Regions from separate parts of the Homo sapiens genome. Here region 1 is linked to region 2. The links are contacts of gene promoters, found by promoter capture Hi-C in blood cells and fetal thymus (Javierre and others, 2016). All regions are on one chromosome and are shown on one strand. The core of a region is centred on a gene start or on the middle of the fragment in contact, and the rest is flanking DNA. Distances in the headings are between cores, read along the strand shown. Region 1 overlaps REPS2 (RALBP1 associated Eps domain containing 2). Region 2 holds the start of TXLNG (taxilin gamma).

Evidence for each region. The method cuts DNA at HindIII sites, captures the fragments that hold promoters and counts their contacts. A CHiCAGO score of 5 or more calls a contact.
Region 1: a fragment that was not itself captured here is called in contact with the fragment with the promoter of TXLNG in region 2 in 1 of 17 cell types (total B cells); the score reaches 5.9 in total B cells.

Annotation. Positions count from the first base shown.
Region 1 is chrX:17,048,179-17,053,781 of GRCh38, reverse strand. It overlaps REPS2 (RALBP1 associated Eps domain containing 2), which reads right to left. Exons shown (of 18, transcript NM_004726.3): 7 at 1,337-1,400. Among named protein-coding and RNA genes, the nearest start is that of REPS2, 100 kb to the right of the region's middle. The HindIII fragment of the contact is 3,790 bases long and covers 1,853-5,603 here.
Region 2 is chrX:16,783,935-16,789,434 of GRCh38, reverse strand. TXLNG (taxilin gamma) reads right to left here and starts at 2,969. Exons shown (of 10, transcript NM_018360.3): 1 at 2,846-2,969. The coding sequence starts at 2,947. LOC124905250 (a long non-coding RNA gene) reads left to right here and starts at 3,169. Exons shown (of 2, transcript XR_007068398.1): 1 at 3,169-3,365; 2 at 3,472-3,775. RefSeq lists enhancers at 127-627, 2,670-3,402, 3,374-3,573 and a silencer at 2,184-2,623. The HindIII fragment of the contact is 8,203 bases long and covers 1-5,500 here.

The sequences.
Region 1 (5,603 bases), core at 2,498-4,997, 260 kb before region 2:
CTTTCATAGGCGTGTCTCAACAAAAAGATAGGAGGTCTCATGCCAACAATGTTTAGACTGGGAATTCTGCCAAAACAAATGGTATTCTTTTCAAAATGATAATTTCTTTATTCTTCCCTAGCCAGAAAATCTAATATAAGGGCCGGGCATGGTGGCTCATGCCTGTAATCCCAGAGTTTTCAGAAACCAAGGCAGGAGGATTGCCTGAGGCAAGGAGTTCAAGACCAGACTGGTCAACATAGCAAGACCCTGTCTCTAGAAAAAAATGAAAAGCTAGCTGGGAGGCTGAGGTAGGAGGATCGCTTGAGCTTAGGAGTCAGAGGCTGCAATGAGCTATAATCATGTCACTGCACTCCAGCCTGGGTGACAGAGTGAGCCCTCATCTCCAAAAAAACAAACAAACAAACAAAAAACAAAACAAAAACAAAACTAATATAAGGCTTGTAAAAACAAAAAAATTATGCCAGAGTATATATTGTTGAAGAACCTAAATCCAGCTCAGAATCCCAGATACATTGACATGCATGAGTATTATTGGAGTAGTTTTCCAATAAGATGCACAAAACATGACAAGCAATTTTAAATCCTATCATAATTCTGTAAATCCTCATGCAAAAAGCTTTATATAAACATTATAATGTTTTTAATTATATATTTATAGCAGTGCGATCTCCTGCCCAGTTTTGGGGAAGAACTAGCCCACACACAGCCGAGAGTTTACAGCAGCACCAAGCATTTTCATGAATGCAAATAGAGCCATCTGGACCATCCCAGCATAGCCCTTTTGGAACCAGAGTGCATAAAGGTGCAGTGGATACCACAGCTGCAAGTCTGAATTAGGGCCCAACTGATAAACACCAGCCAAATTTGCAAAGCTCAGAGGCAGCTAGAATAGTCAAATCTAACCTAACTCCAAAATATTCCTCAACCTTCTGTTCACTCAGCCTTATAAAATATAAAAAATAGTTTGTCAAGCTCCTCTGGTTACTTGTATCACACCTAGCAGAAAAGTCTGAAAATGAAATCTACAGGATGGTAAGTCTCATGTGCCCACAACTGCCTAGACTGAAAAGGGATTGAGATGGGGATAATAATTAGGAAATTACTTTAAAATAATAGTTAACACTCATAGTGCTTAATACGTGCCAGACATTGTTCATTGTACTTTTCATATAACATTTAATTTTCACAGCAACAAAAATCTGAGTTGTATTCACTCCTGTAGTCTGTTAAAAACATCATTCAAAACATAAGCCTTTAAAAAATGCAAAGGTAGGAACTAAAGGATGAGTTATGGATGATGGTATGAATGTCATATGGCATTAATTGTACTTACCATATATAGGAGAGTTCTGGAATGGAAAGCTTTGATTTGGTGAAGAAGTTCTTGGCCACAGAACCTGTCAAGTGCCATTGTTTAAATAAACCATTAATTACTCAGCTAGAGTAGCTTTTACATTTATATACAAATGAATCACAATTTTTTCATTCAGCAATCTCTTCTGTATAACCACAAACATATTTATTCCTCAAAGCAATTATGAATCATGGGACCAAAAGCAACACATGAATAGCTTTTTTAAAAATATGTAAATTACAATAGGGCAAAAGAAGCAATAACATAATGCTCATGAAAGATGCAAATCACATAAATTAATTTCTGCTTCATTTTTACCAAAATCTGCAAAATTTTTCCAAAAATTTAGAAGACGAAGTTCAAAACTTTGAACAAATTTGGCAGATTTCAAATAGAAATTTCAAATAGAAAAGTAATAGAAAACTGACCAAAAAGAAGAAAATTAATACCATTGATCACACCACACAGAGATAAGACAGACATCTTGGGAAAGCTTTTGGTGAGATTTAAGAATTCCTAGTGGCATTTTGAGAAACTTATCCAGGAATCTTTCTTCCTTCATTGTTGATTTACCTGTATCAACTGAAATCAGGCAATCATTCCACTTTACATGTTACATAACTGCAAGACCCAGCTGTTCTTGAAATGTTAGACCTTACTGAGATTGAATTTGAATGCTTTCAGCTCCCAGTACAGTTTGATCTAGCAATTCCACTCCTAGGTATGTATTCAAAAGAAATAAAAATATATGTTCACATAAAAACTGGTACACAAATATTCAAATCAGCATTATTCTTAATACTCCAAAAGTGGAAGAACACCATATGCCTATCAACTGATGAATGGATAAATAAAATGGGATGTACTGATATAATGGAATTATTCAGCCATAAAAAGGAATGAAATTCTGGTACATACAACATGAATGAGCCTTTAAAACATTATGCTAACTGTTGGTGGGAATTAGTACAACCACTATGGAGAACAGTTTGGAAGTTCCTCAGAAAACTACAATTAGAGCTACCATATGACCCAGCAATCCCACTACTGGGTATATACCTAAAAGAAAGGAAATCAGTGTATCAAAGAAATATGTGCACTCCTATGTTTGCTGCAGCACTGTTTACAATAGCTGAGATTTGGAGGCAACCTATGTGTCCATTGACAGATGAATAAAGAAAATGTGGTATGTATACACAGTGGGGTACTATTCAGCCATTAAAAAAAAATAATGAGATCCAATCATTTGCAACAACATGGATGGAACTGGAGATCATTATGTTAAGTGAAATAAGCCAGTCACAGAAAGACAAACATCGCATGTTCTCATTTGTGGGATCTAAAAATCAAAATGATTGAACTCATGGACACAGAGAGTAGAAGGAAGGTTACCAGAGGCTGTGAGGGGTAGTGGCAGGGAGAGAGTAGGGGCGAGGCGGGGATTGCTAATGGGTACAAAAAACTAGTTAGAAAGAATGACTAAGACCTACTACTTGATAGCACAATAGGGTGACTATAGTCAATAACTTAATTGTATATTTTAAATAACTTAAAGAATGTAACTGGATTGTTTGTAACTCAAAGGATAAATGCTTGAGGGGATGGATACCCCATTTACCATGATGTGATTATTATGTATTGCATGTCTGCATCAAAACATGTCACATACCCCATAAATATATACACCTATGTACCCACACAAATGTTTTAATTAAAAAAAAAACTAAAACATTATGCTAAATGAAAGAGACACAAAAGACCACATATTATGAGATTCCATTTCTAGAAAAAGGGATACGTTCTGAGAAATGCATCATGAGGTGATTTCCTCATTGTGCGAACAGCACAGGGTGTACTTACACAAACCTAGATGGTATAGCCTACTATACACCTAGGCTAGATGGTAGAACCTATTGCTCCTAGGCTACAAACCTGTACGGCATGTTCCTGTACTGAATACTATAGGCAGTTGGGACACAATAGTAACTATTTGTGTATCTAAACACAACTAAATATAGAAAACAGCCTGGGCAACATAGTGAGACCTCCTCTCTACAAAAAAATTAGCCAGGCAAGGCATAGTGATGTGCACCTGCAGTCCCAGCTACTAGGGAGGCTGAGGTGGGAGGATCACTTGAGCCCAGGAGGTCAAGGCTGCAGTGAGCCGAGATCACATCACTGCACTCCAGCCTAGGCACAGAGTAAGACCCTGTCAAAAAAAAAAAAAAAAGAAAGAAAGAAAGAAAGAAAGAAAGAAAGAAAGAAAGAAAGAAAGAAAGAAAGGAAGAAAGGAAGAAAGAAAGAAGAAACATAGAAAAGGCAGAGTAAAAATATGGTATAAAAGATGAAAAATGGTTCACCTTTGTAGGTCCCTTACCATGAATGGAGCTTGCAGGACTGGAAGTTGCTCTAGGTAAGTCAGAGAGTGAGTGGTGAGTGACTGTGAAGGCCTAGGACATTACTGTACACTACTGTAGACTTTATAAATACTGCACACTCAGGCTACACTAAATTTACCAAAAAAAAAAATCCTTTCATCAATAATAAATTAACCTTAGAGTGTAAGTTTTTACTTCATAAACTTTAAAATTTATTTTAACCTTCTTGACTCCATTGTAATAACACTTGGCTTAAAACAAAAACACACTGTACAATTTTAAAATAACTTAAGAGTGTAGTCAAATTGTTTTCAACTTAATAGATAAATGCTTGAGGAAATGGATACCCCATTCTTCATGATGTGCTTATTTCATATTGTGTGCCTGTATCAAAACATCTCATGTACCCCATAAATATATACACCTATGTACCCACAAAAATTTAAAAATTTAAAAAAATTGCACAGCTGTACAAAAATATTTTCTTTCTTTATATCTTTATTCTATTATTCTATTTTTAAAATTTTTAATTTTTTTACCATTTAAACTTTTTGGTTAAATACTGAAACACAAACACGTATAAACTTTTTGGTTAAAAACTGAAACACAAACACTTATCAGCCTAGACCTTCACAAGGTCAGGACCATCAATAACACTGTCTTCCACCTCTATACTGTGGAGGTGACTAGAAGAGGACAATAACCTGCAGGTAGCTGCCGCCTCCTAGGATAACAATGCCTTCTTCTGGAATACCTCCTGAAGTTCCTGCCTGAGGCTGTTTTACAGTTAACTTTTTTTTATATATAAGTAAGAGTATACTCTAAAATAACAATAAAAGTATAGCATAATAAAAGGCCAGGTGCGGTGGCTCATGCCTGCAATCCCAGCACTTTGGGAGGCTGAGGTGGGTGGATCACGAGGTCAGGGGTTTGAGAGCAGCCTGGCCAACATGGTGAAACCCCGTCTCTACTAAAAATACAAAAATTAGCCTGGTGTGGGGCATGCACCTGTAGTCCCAGCTACTCGGGAGGCTGAGGCAGAAGAATCATTTGAACCCGGGAGGCGGAGGCTGCAGTGAGCCAAGATCGTGCCATTGCACTCCAGCCTGGGCGACAGAGCAAGACTCCATCTCAAAAAAGAAAAGAAAGAAAAAAAGTATAGCATAATAAATACATAATAAGCTAATAATAGCCATTTATTATTAAGTATTATATACTGTACATAATCATATGTGCTAGGCTTTTATACGACTGGTAGCACAGATTTGTTTTTACCAGCATCATCACATTTATGTGAGCACTGCCTTGTGCTACAACATCATGATGGCTACAGCATCACTAGGTGATTAATGGAGCTGGAATTTTTCAGCTCCGTGATACTGTTATGGTACCGCCATCATTGACTGACTGAAACAACCTTATGTGTTAACTGTAGGTAAGAGAAAATCATTGGGGCTATGTGATAGGTACACAGAGGTTTGTTGTATCAGCCAGACTAGTTGTGTCTATATCTGAAATTCTGCAAGATACAAAAGTTAAAAGAAAACAAAAACATTTCTAACAAGTACCTGTTTGTATTTGGCTAAATATCTGCACATGTCGTAAAGAAACTCACCTGAGCACGGGGTAAGGTTAGCAAGTGGTCAAATCGTGCAATATGGGTTTCTGCTTATTTTCCTTAATCATGACGTCAACATTAATTTGTTGTATCTGTACTATTCTGCCGTCAATAAAGCCATTACCACCAATCAGTAAATGATGTTTGCAATTACTTATACAAGTATATTTCAATTATGTGCCTCATTTCACAAGATAAAACTAATCTTTGCCCACACTTCAATATGGCAGGTTACAATTATTAAGGACAT
Region 2 (5,500 bases), core at 1,720-4,219:
TTAACAAATTTAGCTACATGTCACTAGTGGCTACTATCAGCACAGTTTTAGAAAATTCCTGAAGAGACCCCTAGTAATGTACTGTAACATTACCTTTAGAAGCAAAAGGTTACCTCAAGAGACCATTCAAATGGTTGTAGTTATGAAACAATGCCACAATTAACTGAGCAGGTCGCGAGTGACTAGGCAGATGGTTAAAGCAACCAGGAACCAAAAAAGCCCATCTCCAATTGTTCCTCACTTCAGGTCCCATAATGTAACTAGATAATGACAAAACACTCACTTTTCTTTTAATTCTTTCAATATTTTCAAAAAACTCAATTCATTAAACATTTCTGCTTCCTGAAAAAAAGGATAGAAGTTAAGCTGGAATTAAGAAATATTTTTTCAAGTCAGTGACCCAAAAGAAATTTTAAAATTAAGGGACACAATGAAGTAATGTAAAAATGATTTTTAAAAAAATTTTTGGCCAGTTGCAGTGGCTCATGCCTGTAATCCCGCCACTTTGGAAGGCCAAGGTGGGTGGCTTACCTGAGGCCAGGAGTTCAAGACCAGCCTGGCCAACATGGTGAAACCCTGTTTCTACTAAAAATATAAAAATTAGCTGGGCGTGGTAGCACACATCTGTAATCCCAGCTACTCAGGAGGCTGAGGCACGAGAATCGCTGGAACCCACGAGGTGGAAGATGCAGTGAGCCAAGATTGCATCACTGCACTGCAGCCTGGGTAACAGAGCAAGACTCTGACTCAAAAAAAAAAAAAAAAAACACAACAAGTTTGTTTGTTTTTTTAAGAGACAGGGTCTCACTCTGCGGCCCAGGCTAGCCTCCTGCTTCAGTCTCCTGACTAGGTGGTACTACAGGTGCATGCCACCATAGCTGGCTTAAAAATGATTCTTGCAAACACAAGATAATTCACCCAATTTGTTAAATGAAAATTCAAAGATTAATATTTTACCATGTATTTGAATGCCGTCACTGTCAGTTAGAAATCAAAAAGAAAAAGATGCTCAGAAGAGCATAAGCAAAGAAGAATGGAGTATGAGGTACATAAACAAAAATGAGTAGACACACACATGACTATTCCTATCCAGCTGTTAACCAGAGCTCTGCACCTCAAAGGGTCATTACCTCCTATCTTGGTTATTTTAAATGCTAGTTGATTAAACCTCAGTTCCTAATTCAACGACTTTTTGTCCTTATCCCAGTGTCATAAAAGGGAACTTATATCCTCAATTGCAGTGGCTTTTTATCAGAGTCCTCCTCCCCTGGGGAACCTACGAAATCAAACACTGAGATTGGCACTCCACCCTTAGGGAATAAGTGAAGTGTCCAAAGTGATGGTGTTGAATCCCTTACAGGACATTGGTCCACAGCTTCTTTTTCAGTCCTGCAAGCACTGGATCTTTCTTTTAGAATACAAAGAGAGGGAGAGAAAGAAAGAGAGGTAATTGAGAAGTAGTAACACTGTCATGCAGAAACATGAAAATACCTGACCTTAGAAACAGGCCCCAAAAAGCTAATTCTTAACACTCTGCTCAGACGTAAACTGGACCTTTGTTCTCCCATTTGAAGTTTATGAATTGCATTAGAAAAATATTATTTCGTAATTTCATACAGGAGTTAAGAGTGTTCAAATACATAATTAAGTAATATTAAATAGCCCTCGGTGATCAAGCAAGATATCCAACAAGTCGAACGTTTCAGTATGTTCACCTGCAAGGAAAAAAAGAGATGGGGTTCCCACCTTCCCAGTCTCAGTCCCCGCAATTATCCATTCCAGGGCCCCGAAAACCCTGTACCCCGTTCGTTGTGCAATCTTTTTCAAACTCCACCCACTGAGCTCCAGAACAAGTGGAATTGTCCCGTTCTGAAAGAGGTCTCAATTTTCCTGTATCTAGGGAGGGACTGAAAACTCCTTGACGTGAGTCAAGTAAGGCAAGGGGAACAGTCCGGCCTGTTTCCCAGATTAAGAAAGACCCAAGGCCAGGGTCGGGAAGGCATTCAAGTTTCCACTCATCAAATTAAAAAAATAATAAATGAAAGAAAAAAAAGAGGGGAAAAAAGAGGAGGGTGGTAAATAGGACTGGGAGGACCAGCTATCATGCGATATCCCAACTCTGCAGGACCGAGGTCCTCCAGCATCGCCTCCCCATCCATCCCCGGCCCCACGTGCAGCCAAGCCCTCGGAGCCCCGGGGTCTAGGTCCCGGGGGCCGAGCGTCCCGCTCGCACCGGCCCTGCGACACTCACCCGCTCGCCTGCCCGCCCGCGCAGTGGCGGGGAGCGCAGGGGGGCGGGGGAAGGGGGGCCAAGCACACCCCGGCTCCCGCGCGGTTATCTTACTGCGCAACAGCCTAGCCTGAGCAGCCCGGGGGCACCCCGCAGCGCGCCCTGCGCACCTGCCCGACGCCAGGAGGGCGAGCCCACGACCCCAGCGAGCCCCCGGACGGCGGCGCTCAGCGCCGGGAGCACGGTGACGGCGGTGACTGGGAGAAGGAACGCCTGGCGCCCGGATCCCCGCGGTGCTGGCCGCACGTGGCTGTCACACCTGGCGCACCCCCGCCTCGCACCCCTTCTCCCTTAGAACCGCGTGCGCCCCCTGCCCTCCCTCCCGGCTTCCCCGCCGCGCGCCGCCAAACCCCAACCGTCGTCCCTTCCCACCCCATCCATCGCGGTCCCACCCCCCCCCACCTGCTCCCACTGTCGTCACCCCCGGGAGGGAAGAAGACCGGATGTTCGTCCCGTGGCTATAGGTAACCAGGGAGAGAGAAGAGGTGGACCCTGAAAAAGGGAGCCCAAACATCCCCCGGGCCCGACAACAACGAGGGCGTCCCCCTGACTGACCTTCTGCCGCGGGCTGCGTCGCCGTCCGCCCCGTCCGGCCTCAGTCGCCTCTTCGGCGCCGCCGCCTCTTCCCCGCGCTGCCTCCTCTACCCGCGTCGCCATGAGGTGACGGCAGCAGCCAAACAAGCGGCCCGACAAGGGGCACAGAATCTCGCAGGGCCTTTCGCCCCGCCCCCGAGCCCCCACGACCAATCGCCGCATGTGAGACTTCCCACGTGACCGGAGGAGGTTGGCCCCCGAGGGGACGGAGCGAGATGGGGATGGGGAGCATTGAATACTGGGCTGGGCTTCAGCAAGACCGAAGGGCAGATAGAGGCCGTGTGAGTCTGCGCGGATCGGGAATGGGACTCGGGAGTGGACTACAAGTCCCAGCAGGGCGTGCGGCCACAGCTCGCAGGCTCGGATCGGGATTGGGACATAAGGCGGCGTTCTGAAAAGGGGAGAGTGCTGCACCCAGTGTGCTTCGTGTGCATCCTAGTGGGACTTGCGGTTTCTGGGGGCGATGTCTGGCTATAGGAAGGTACTCGTTATGATCTTTCGCGGAAAGTTTAGAAATATCCCCGTGTTTGAGAAGGAGCACGATCGGCGACACATTCTTGTGTTTTTGTTTTTGTTGCCGTTCTTAGGAATTGGGCGCGAATGATTTGGGGATAAGGGAAAATACTTCACGACTTTCAAGACGGAAGGTGTATTGGCTCTTAGAATTTGAAGTTTCGTGCTCGGGCACCTGCCCCGAGCCCTGCCCCTCCACCAGAGTTGTTACCACGGTTTACTTGTCCCGAGCTCCCGCGGGATAGGTGCCGCATTCTATTCACCTTGGTTGAACCGCCCCGGCTTCTGCACACTTACTTGGCACTTCATTCATGTTGAATGTATCCTGCTTTCTCCCACCCCATTTACTCGTTTCATTACCTAAATTTTTTCAACAAACTCGGTTTGCTGAACCGAATTTTTTTTTTTATTGATATGATGTTGGGGGGGAGAGGGGAGATTTCCTCAGGAATATTCCCTATTTCCATCTGATGGAACCAGATCTCCAATGGCCGAGCTTCTGAAAGGCACAGACCATCATGAAATCCTGATATATTGTCTTAAATAATTCATTATGAGGCCGGGCGCGGTGGCTCACGCCTGTAATGCCAACACCTTGGGGGACCGAGGCGGGTGGATCACAAGGTCAGGAGTTCCAGACCAGCCTGGCCAACACAGTGAAACTCCGTCTCTACTAAAAATACAAAAATTAGCCGGGCATGGTGGTGGTGGTGGGCTTTTCTTTTTTCTTTGTTTTTGTTTTCCCAAGACGGAGTCTTGCTGTCACCCAAAGCTGGAGTGCAGTGGCACGATCTCAGCTCACTGCAACCTCCGCCTCCCAGGTTCAAGCAATTCTCCTGCCTCAGCCTCCCGAGTAGCTGGGATTGCAGGCACGTGCCACCACGCTGGGCTAATTTTTGTATTTTTAGTAGAGAGAGGGGTTTCACCATGTTGGCCAGGCTGGTCTTGAACTTCTGACCCCCTGATCTGCCCTCCTCGGCCTCCCAAAGTGCTGGGATTACAGGTGTGAGCAACCGCCCCCAGCCGGTGGTGGGCTTCTGTAATTCCAGCTATTTGGGATCTGAGACAGGAGAATCGCTTGAACCCGGGCAGCAGAGGTTGCAGTGAGCCAAGATCGTGCCATTGAACACTCCAGCCTGGGTGAGGAGAAACTCCATCACACACACACACACAAAAGTAAGTTATTCCTCAAAAAAAAATTTTTTTTTAGAGATGGGGCATTATGTTGCCCAGGCTGGTTTCAAATTTCATGATTTTCTATATTGTTTAAGTATGTATGGAATGAAAAAAATCAATAAAGTTATCTTTATTAAGGAAAGAGGCCGGCCACGGTGGCTCACGCCTGTAACCCCGGCACTTTGGGAGGCCGAGGCGGGCGGATCACCTGAGGTCAGAAGTTCAAGACCAGCCTGACCAACGTGGTGAAACCCGGTCTGTGCTAAAAATAGAATTAGCCAGGCGTGGTGACACGTGCCTGCAATCCCAGCTACTAGGGAGGCTGAGGCAGGAGAATCGCTTGAACCCGGGAGGCGGAGGTTGCAGTAAGCCGGGATCACGCCATTGCACTCTAGCCTGGGCAACAAGAGCGAGACTCCGTCTCAAAAAATAAAAAGAAAAGAAAAGAACTATGCCATTAACCCCAAGCCTTCAGAGAAATGAAAAATATTTAATTGAATTAAATGCATATCTTTTTTTTTTTTTTTTTTTTTGAGACAGAGTTTTGCTCTTGTTGCCCAAGCTGGAGTGCAGTGGCCAATCTCGGCTCACTGCAACCTCTGCCTCCCGGGTTCAAGTGATTCTCCTGCCTCAGCCTCCCAAGTAGCTGGGATTACAGGCGCGCCCCACCACGCCCAGCTAATTTTTCTATTTTTAGTAGAGAGGGGGTTTCACCACGTTCGCCAGAATGGTCTTCATCTCTTGACCTTGTGATCCGTCCACCTCGGCCTCCCAAAGTGCTGGGATTACAGGCCTGAGCCACCGTGCCTGGCCTCTTTTTTTTTTTTTTTTTAATGCAGAGTCTTGCTCTGTCGCCCAGGCTGGAGTGCAGTGGCATGATCTCAGCCCACTGCAATCTGCACCTCCCAGGTTCAAGGAATTCTCGTG